Regions from separate parts of the Homo sapiens genome. Here region 1 is linked to region 2. Evidence: promoter capture Hi-C in 16 types of primary human blood cells and fetal thymus (Javierre and others, 2016). All regions are on one chromosome and are shown on one strand. The core of a region is centred on a gene start or on the middle of the fragment in contact, and the rest is flanking DNA. Distances in the headings are between cores, read along the strand shown.

What was found. The method cuts DNA at HindIII sites, captures the fragments that hold promoters and counts their contacts. A CHiCAGO score of 5 or more calls a contact.
Region 1: a contact is called between a fragment that was not itself captured here and the fragment with the promoter of NSD1 in region 2, in 3 of 17 cell types (erythroblasts, megakaryocytes and endothelial precursors). The highest score is 7.3, in erythroblasts.

Annotation. Positions count from the first base shown.
Region 1 is chr5:177,273,518-177,277,751 of GRCh38, forward strand. NSD1 (nuclear receptor binding SET domain protein 1) reads left to right here. Exons shown (of 23, transcript NM_022455.5): 17 at 155-267. Among named protein-coding and RNA genes, the nearest start is that of RAB24, 28 kb to the right of the region's middle. The HindIII fragment of the contact is 5,273 bases long and covers 1-4,234 here.
Region 2 is chr5:177,130,369-177,135,062 of GRCh38, forward strand. NSD1 (nuclear receptor binding SET domain protein 1) reads left to right here and starts at 3,405. Exons shown (of 23, transcript NM_022455.5): 1 at 3,405-3,584. RefSeq lists enhancers at 2,396-2,947, 2,440-2,734, 2,948-3,501, 3,502-4,053, 4,054-4,607 and 1 more and silencers at 2,771-3,440, 3,521-3,680, 3,741-4,040. The HindIII fragment of the contact is 6,719 bases long and covers 1-4,694 here.

The sequences.
Region 1 (4,234 bases), core at 870-3,369, 140 kb after region 2:
CTGTTATGTGTTTTCTTTTTCATATAGCATTGGTCGATTTTTGTGTAAAACATGGAGTTTCTCCAACTTAAAGGGGAAAAAGTAAAAAATAAGTGAATAAATAAGTAATTCCACCCAGAGATTTTGAAGTGACTTGTGCTGTCTGTTTTCATAGCTCTTCAGGAAGCTGCAGCAAGGTTTGAGGAATTAAAGGCCCAAAAAGAGCTAAGACAGCTGCAGGAAGACCGAAAGAATGACAAGAAGCCACCACCTTATAAACATATAAAGGTGAGGAGAAAATCTTGGGGGACCTTCTCTAGAAGAGAAATGGAATAGCTGGCTCTTCCCACTCTGTTCATGACAAGAACGGAAGCACAAGCATAGTTCGTTTTAGGTAGAGGTATGAGCTTAAAAGAAGATCAGAAATAGCCGGGCACGGTGGCTCACGCTTGTAATCCCAGCACTTTGGGAGGCCGAGGCGGGCGGATCACCTGAAGTCAGGAGTTTGAGACCAGCCTGGCCAGGCAGGTGCCTGTAATTCCAGCTACTTGGGAGGCTGAGGCTGGAGAATTGCTTGAACCCGGGAGGCAGAGGTTGCAGTGAGCCGAGATCGTGCCACTACACTCAAGCCTGGGCGACAGAGTAAGACTCCGTCTCCAAAAAAAAGAAGAAAAAAAGAAACAAGTACCAGAACACCATTCCTAGCGCATTGCCAGGATTCCCAGTGTCAGGAGAATTGATTTTAGGTGGACCTAACCTTTAACCTACCTAGTGAAATAGTCATCACCATTATCATCTGGGTCCAGTGGAGCCTTTGTATTTTAAACATTTTTATGTCATTTATATGAATAATTGACAGACATAAAAATAAAGAGACAGTGGAGAACAAATGTATTAGAAATTTTAGTGTTATGTTGTTGCTAAAATAATTGCAGTTTTATCATTACTTTTAATGGCAAACCTCAATTACTTTTGCACCAACCTAATATTTACTAAATCCTTTTTACAAACCTCTTTTTATCAGATAAGTTAGTTGCGATGCTCAAATATCATAAAACATGAAAGAATATTGTTAGGCCTGTTGAGAAAAGGAGATTACCCAGGTTGTTCTTGTAAAACATCTTTGATGGCATTGTTCCTGGATGAGAATACCCTATTTCTTTTTTGTTCTTAGAAATGCATTATTTGTTCACTTATCCTTTGTGTGTGTGTGTGTGTGTGTGTGTGTGTGTTGTTTTTTTGTTTGTTTGTTTTTGAGATGGAGTCTCCCCCTGTCTCCTAGGCTGGAGTGCAGTGGTGCAATCTTGGCTCACTGCAACATCCATCTCCCAGGTTCAAGCAAGTCTTCTGCCGCAGCCTCCCGAGTAGCTGGGATTACAGGCGCACACCACTATATGCGGCTAATTTTTGTATTTTTAGTAGAGACGGGGTTTCGCCGTGTTGGCCAGGCTGGTCTCGAACTCCTGACCTCAAGTGATTCACCCGCCACAGCCTCCCAAAGTGCTGGGATTACAGGCATGAGCCACCACGCCCGGCTGTGTGTTTCCAAAGACTGATAATCTGAGATGCTACTTGGAGACTAATTTGACCACCATCTTGAGAATCTAGTATGTTTAAGTTTGTCTCAAATATTGGATCGAGCATAGTTAAACTGAAAAACTTTCGTTGTTTGTCAGAAATTCAGATTGAACTAGATGACTTGGATTTTTATTTGCTAAATCTGATAACCCTACCGAAATCAGACCTTCAAGATCGTGTCTCCAGTGTTTTATACTTGCTTTTTTATTTTTAAACTCCTTTCCTCAGGTGTAGTAGACGGTCTTTTATACTTTTTTTAAACGACAATGCAGTACTTTGGGTAATGCCGTAAGAAATCTAAAGTGTGACAGTTTCAGTATTTCATCGTGCTTATATGTGATTCCATTGTGCTTCCCTTGTCTTTTTTTTTTTTTTTTTTTTTTTTTTGAGATGGAGTCGCCCAGGATGGAGTGCAGTGGCACGATCTTGGCTCACTGCAAGCTCTGCCTCCCGGGTTCAAGCCATTCTCCTGCCTCAGCCTCCCGAGTAGCTGGGACTACAGGCGCCCGCCACCACACCGGGCTAATTTTTTGTATTTTTAGTAGAGATGGGGTTTCACCATGTTAGCCAGGATGGTCTCGATCTCCTGACCTCGTGATCGGCCTGCCTTAGCCTCCCAAAGTGCTGGGATTACAGGCGTGAGCCACTGCGCCCGGCCTCCCTTTTCTTATTATTTCTGTCTTCTTTAGCATAGTTGTGAATTATTGATGAGTTAGTAATAATGTGTAATGATGAATTAGTAAGTTGTTACAAGATAGAGGAAAAGTAAGAACACTAAAATTCCATACCGTGTCTTAGATTTAGTCTGATGGACTTACATGGTATTTACAAGACAGAATCAGTTTTGTTCTTTGTTTGTTCCTTTGAGACAGGGTCTCCCTCTGTGACCCAGGCTAGAGTGCATTGCTGCAATTTTGGCTCACTGCAACCTCCGCTTCGTGGGCGCAAGTGATTCTCCTGCCTCCTGCCTCAGTCTCCTAAGTAGCTGGGATTACAGACATGAGCCACCAACGCCTGGCTAATTTTGGTATTTTTTGTAGAGTTGGGGTTTCACCATGTTGCCCAGGCTGGTCCTGAACTCCTCAGCTCAAAGCAATCCACCCACCTCAACCTCCCAAAGAACTGGGATTACAGGCGTGAGCTACGACACTTGGCCTGAATTTTATTCTTTTAAATAAGTATATTTTCTTTTTGAACTTTGGAAGACCTCTAAAAAGGGATAAAAGTCATAAACACTGCTTCTGAAGTCTTTTTTTTTTTTTCCCCCTGAGACAGAGTCTCACTCTGTTGCCCAGGCTGGGGTGCAGTGGCGTGGTCTCAGCTCACTGCAACCTCCATCTCCTGGATTCAGCCCACTCTCCTGCCTCAGCCTCCTGAGTAGCTGGGACTACAGGCATTGTGCCACCACACCTGGCTAATTTTTGTGTTTTTAGTAGAGATGGGGTTTCACCATGTTAGCCAGGCTGGTCTTGAACTCCTGACCTCAGGTGATCTGCCCGCCTCGGTCTCCCAAAGTTGAGCCTCCCACGGTGAGCCACTGTGCCAGGCCCAGTTTTTTTTGCTTTTTTCTCCCCCCCTTTATTAGAGATGATGATTTCACTATGTTGCCTAGGCCGATCTCCTGGCCTCAGGTTGTCTTCCCACGTTGGCCTCCCAAATTACTGGGATTATAGGCATGAGCTGCCACTCCTGGCCTTTAAATTGTTACTTTAAATGTCATAAAATATCCATACCAAGATTAGATTAAAAAAAGAACAAAACGAAAAAAGTCATAAACTGTTAATCCTTACAAATGATTACAACTTCTGAAATTAAGAATTTCAAAACCTATAATTGGATCTAAATGAGTCTCACAATGTATGTGAAAATATATTCTTGGAACATAGTCGTTAGGCCTCAGAAATGGAAAATAATTCTATTCACATAGTCCTGAGGGTCAGATAACAGCAAGGTAGGCATTTTAGAGTTAACATATTAACCATATTGAGCTACTGAGAGAGCAGTTTCCTGTGAGTGATCTCATCAAGAACTTAGAGGCCAACTTCTTTACTCCATTTTTTTTTTTTTTTTTAATAAACATTTCCAGGAAAAGGATCTAGAGCAGGCATTGGCAAACTATGGTTCATGGGCAAATGTGGTCTACTGCCTATTCTTGTAATACTCTTGAACTACAGGTTGTTTTTGTATTTTTTAGTGATTGGCAAAAAAGAGATTTTGTGACACATAAAGATGATATGAAATTCAACTTTCAATCAGTATCCAGAAAATTTTATTGGAATACAGGCATGCTTCTTCATTTACATATTACATATGGCTGCTTTTATATTACAGTGGCAGAGTCGAGCTACATGTGGAGATCTATGGCCTGCAAAGCCTGAAGTGTTTACTTTCTGACCCTTTACAGAAAAAGTTACTTAACTCCTGATCTATAGTGAGATTTACTTAGAATTACATATCCATGTCTTTGTTCTTAACCATGTGGGATTTGTTTTGGTTTGCTTTTGGTTTACGATGTGATAAGTACAAAACTTATTTTTGGATTAATAACAGGTTAGATCAGTTGATAAGAAACAATGATTAAAACATATATTTTCCAGCCTGGGCAACATAGCAAAACCCAGTCTCTACAAAAAATACAAAGAAAAAAAAAAATTTGGGGTGCCTGTTGTCCCAGCTA
Region 2 (4,694 bases), core at 2,155-4,654:
CAGTCCTCTCCCTTCTGCCCCCACTCAAGGAGTCAGTGTCCTTGTGAGAATCTATGGCGCTGTGGATCTTCTCAACCTAGTGCTGGCACACATGAGATGCTTGGCCAGGGCCTGCCAGATGGGGAGGCTGGAGATGGGTCGGCTGTGATTGAGACCTCTGTGGCCAAGTTTTACTCTAAGAGGCAGGTAAGGCCCTCAGGGGTTATCCCAGAGAAGTCTGAGAGGTTTTCCCTGGGGTCCTGGTCTTCTCCCCCAGACCTGTCAGCAAGCAGTTCATCCCCAGCTGCCAATCTCCTTTTGGCCCTCAGTCTTCCAGAGGAGCTGGGAGGTGGGAGAGAGGGGTTCTGCAGGGCAGTGTTGTTCAGAGGTGAGCTTTGGAAGAAACTGTTGTCTCAACCCTATTTTCACACCATAGCACCTTTATTTAACTGTCTTTTCCCGAGGCCAGGATCTCATCTTTTGTTTCCCCAGCACTCAGCACACTGCCTGGAATGCAGGAAATGGTTGCTGAATGAAGCGATGAATTACATTTCAGCACTCATCAAGTGCTCAGCCTATAACTAAGTCTGAGTGTAGGCTGCTAACACTTAGACCTTTACCTTACAGAATCTTCGCAGCCAGTGCTGTGCATTGGAAGTTGCAGATGGGGAAACTGAGGCTCAGGACTGTTAAGTGACTAGTTCAAGGCAGGTCTCAGGCCCTCAGGATGGTTAGTGGCAAAGTAAAGGACTGGGAGGAGCATTGATGAATTGGGGCAATTGGCAGAGGAGTAACTGTCAGTCAAAATGATTGGCTCAAATTATTAGGTGTGAAGAAGGAACCAGTCAGAGCTTGCCTGTTGAGTCGAATTGCCCAGATGGGATTAGCAGGGTGAGTGACCCTAGCAGAACAAAGAGCTGGCCCTTGTAGGTATAGACTCGACTTTTCTCTGGTTGGTCCCAACACATAGACAACTACCAACCTGACTTTGCACCTGAGAATCTTCAGGGTACCTCAGACTCTTCAACAGAAGGAGCCTCCCTGAGGTCACAGCCCTCTCATCAGTCCCGTTCCAGTGGGCACTTTCCCTCTAACAAAGCCCACTTGCTGTCTTGGCAGGGTCTGCATCCGGCACTTGCAGACATGTGCTAAGGGCCTGTTGACTTGGGAGCCTCCATCACTGGACTGTGGGCCTTGGAGAGCAAAAGGGTAAGAGCATCTCGAGCTCCACGCCTGCTGGGCCAGTCGCTGGCTGAAGGCAGGGGAAGGATGGAGTTTAGCTGGCCAGCACTAATGTCACACAGGGCAACGCCAAAAATGGCCTTTCTCCCAGGTGGGCTCAAAGTTAACAGAAGGCAGTGAGTAAACAGTCCACTGGGGCAATAACTATGCACATTTACTAAGCCATGGGAAGAATAGTAGTCACGTGGCCCTCGAGGGCGGTGCCCTCAGCTTGAGATGGAGTTAACTCCAAATCTAATCACAGAAGGCTTTCTGGAGGAGGCGGAATTTTTATGGCGGCCGGATCCGGCTTTCTCTGAACAGCGAGAAGGCGCTTAGCGCCCTAGGGACCAGGTAACTCCTGAGGTGAGCTTCTTGGTGGGGATCAAGCCCAGGGGGCGACGGAGTCCGGGCTGGGGGAAGGGCCCGAGGGGCTGGAGTCGCAAGTTCAGGCCCAGCTTGGGCTCCCTGTCCCGCCCTTCCGCTGTCTTGGGGGATTGGACGCCACGCGGTCGTGCTAGATTCGGTGCTGCGGGCCCGGTGCAGGATGCAGGCCGTGAGGCCCCAGGCCGAGGGCTGCGCCAGCGGGCTTGTCCCGGCCAGCCGGGCGGTCCCGTGTCCCGGCGCAGCTCCGCTGGGGTCCAGATGCCCGGCCCTCAGGGGCGAGGCGCGCACTCCCCGGGGAACCGGGCTGCGGAGCAGGCGGCCCGCTCTGGGCGGCGGTGGCACGAGAGGGCCATCTGCCTGGGTGCCGAGAACTGCAGCGTCCGCGGTGCGAGGCGCGGCCCGTCCCGTCCCGGCCCCCAGCCCGGCGCGCACGCACATACCCACGCCGGCCGGCGCCCGCTGCCCGAGCCCCCGTGCCAGGCCCAGACCTTGACTAGGCGCGGGAGGCGGTGCAGGGACTAGAGGACCCCCTCCCCCGGCGTTCCCCTCGCCCCGCCCGAGGCTGCGAGGACCCCTGGGCTCGGGGGTGGTGAGGGAGCTTCGTCCCGGCTGGGCCCGGGCTGGGGACTCGGCCTCCCTGGGCGGGGGCCGCACGGCTGCAGGCCGAGGTGCGGACGCGCTGTCAGGCTGCAGCCCGGCTCGGTGCCGGGGGTGGGCTCAGCGCTGGGGTCGCCTGGCTTCGTTCCCCCGCGGAGGCCACGGCCGGGCGAGCAGTGCCGGGGCGGGTAACCCGACCCGGCTCCCCAGAGCCGCTCACCCCGCACGGCCCGGCAAGGGGAGGGAGAGGGATGGGGGGAGGGGGAAGGGAAGGGGTGGTGGGTGAGGGGCTGTGGGCACCGCAGGGCCGAGTCCCCGGCCCGTCTGCGCTGCTGTAGGGCGGCTGCCCGCGGCACCCGGGACGATCCAGCCTCTGCCTCGCGGGCGTCGAGCCTGAGACAGGAGGGAGCCCTGGGGCTGCACAGGCTTGGCTCAGGGAGGCAGACCCGAGCTGCTGCCTCCATTTTGTTTCCTGCTCAGCTTGGTCTGTGGTGGTGGTGGTGGTGGTGGTGTGGGTTTGGGGTGCGGCCGGGTAGGGGGTTCGCCTGCGGCCGCGTCTGCTCGGGGCCTGAGGCCTCGAAGACCCCAGCCCAAGCCCCCAGGTGAGCCCTGCGGCAGGAGGGGGGTTGCCTTGGCCTCGGGCCGAACCCAGCGGGCTGAGGGCAGGTGCCCAGTGGATGGGGAGCCTGGGCTGTAACCTAAGATGGAGGCCGGGACTGACGCGGGCCCGAGCAGGGCTGGCGGGACGATCGGACAGGCCTCAGCCGCGCCAGGTGCCGCCTGGGTTGGGGTTCGAGACGCGTAGGGTGCGGGAGCCGTGTGCGGCCCGAGGCCAGCGCCGTGCCCCGAGGTAGGTGAGGGGATCGGAATGCCACCCACGACGCCCGCAGGCCCCGACACTCCAAGGAGGCGCGCGAGGCCCCTGGGGAGCCCGCCTCAGGCCCCGCCCGGGCAGCCGGGCCGGCCCGTAGGCCCCGGCCGCGAGCGGGCGCGCAGGGGGAGGGGAGGGGGCGGCAGCGGCAGCTCCGCTGATTGGGCGGCGCTCTCACAAGCCCGACTTCACCCGCCCTGAACCCCGAAGAGTGAGAGAAGGGAACGCGCGCGCTCGGTGGGGGAAGGGGTGCGCGCGCACTCGGGGCCCAGCCGCACGCGGGCCGGCGCGAGGCGCTCGGTCGCACGCGCGGCCGCGGGGGCGCGCGCGGTGGGGGTGTGAGGAGGAGGAGGCGGCGGCGGAATAGGCCGGGGCAGGTCGCGCTCGCTGCCTTCTCCCCTGAAGAGAGACGCGGGGGGAGGGGGGTGCGGCGAGCGGCCCCGCTCTCTCCCCACCGCTCCGCTCGCACCCCAGTGTAATGAGGGTCACCCCCTCCCCCCAGCTGGCCCGGGAGGGGGCGCGGGGCACGGTAACTAGTGCGCTGGGGTGGGCGGCGGGCAGGCGCGAGGAGAAGGGAGGGAGGAGGGTGGCCGGGCGGGGAAGATGGTGGTGGCCGTAAGGTGAGGGGCTCGGGGGAGGGCCAGGCGCGATGCGGGGTTGGTGGCCGGCGGCGCTGCAGCCGCCGGCCTCCTCCCCCTCCCCCTCCTCCATCACTACCAGCCGGGCTCAGGCCTAGCTGGCCGGGCTGCCGCGAACTTCCTCCCGGCGCGGCCCGTGCCCCGCCGGCCGCCTGCGAACACCTCGGCCTCCGCCTCCCCTCAGGTAGCAGGCTGCGGGGCGCGGGGCCGGCTGCCCTCCCGCAGCAAACTTTGCTTGCTGCTGAATATTGATGAGAGCGATCGGCTCGGCTGGGAGGTGCTGCCGCGGCTGCGGGAAGGAGCGCGGCCCGGGCAGGCGGCGGCGGCGTCGGCAGCAGCCATGTTTTTCGAGCTGTAGCAGCTGCTGCTACCCTGACTGGGCTTCGCTGGCCGCCTCGGTTTCTCCCTCTGCCGGGTCCAGGCCTCTTCGCCCTGCAGCTGCGGATCCAGCAGGCCTGCATTCAGGAAGGCGAGCTCTGGGGTGCAGCCGCCTCGGCCGGCTCGCCTGCGGCCTGCGCACCGCCGCTGCAAAGGCTCCGGCGCTGGCTGGGCGCAGGGTGCAGCGCTATTGTGACCGCTGCGCCCTAGCGAGCCAGGAAGGGGGGGGTACCTTTTTGTGCAGGGTCCAGGAGCCCCCCTCGGACCCCGCAGCCTTTTGCTTTTGAGAGATCCAGCTGCTCGACCCCTGGCGAGGGAGGGGGAGGACTAGTCCTGTTTGAGAATTGGGAATTTTGACGGGCAGAGGGGTTTTAATTTTAGTTCATCCCAAGTGTCCACCAGTCTACAGAGGAGGAAAAAGAGACGGGCTGTTTCTATGTAGCAGGATCGGCCCAGCTTCGGGAAAATGGAGTTTTCAGAGGCTCATCGAGGCCATTTTTTCATCTCCAGTCGGGGGAACTTTTTCTGCCCATGGAAGTGCAGCAGAAAGGCATAGAGGCCACTAGGCCTTGAAGTGGCTGCCATTTTAAAGAGTCGAGTCAGATGGCCTATTAACTCAGATT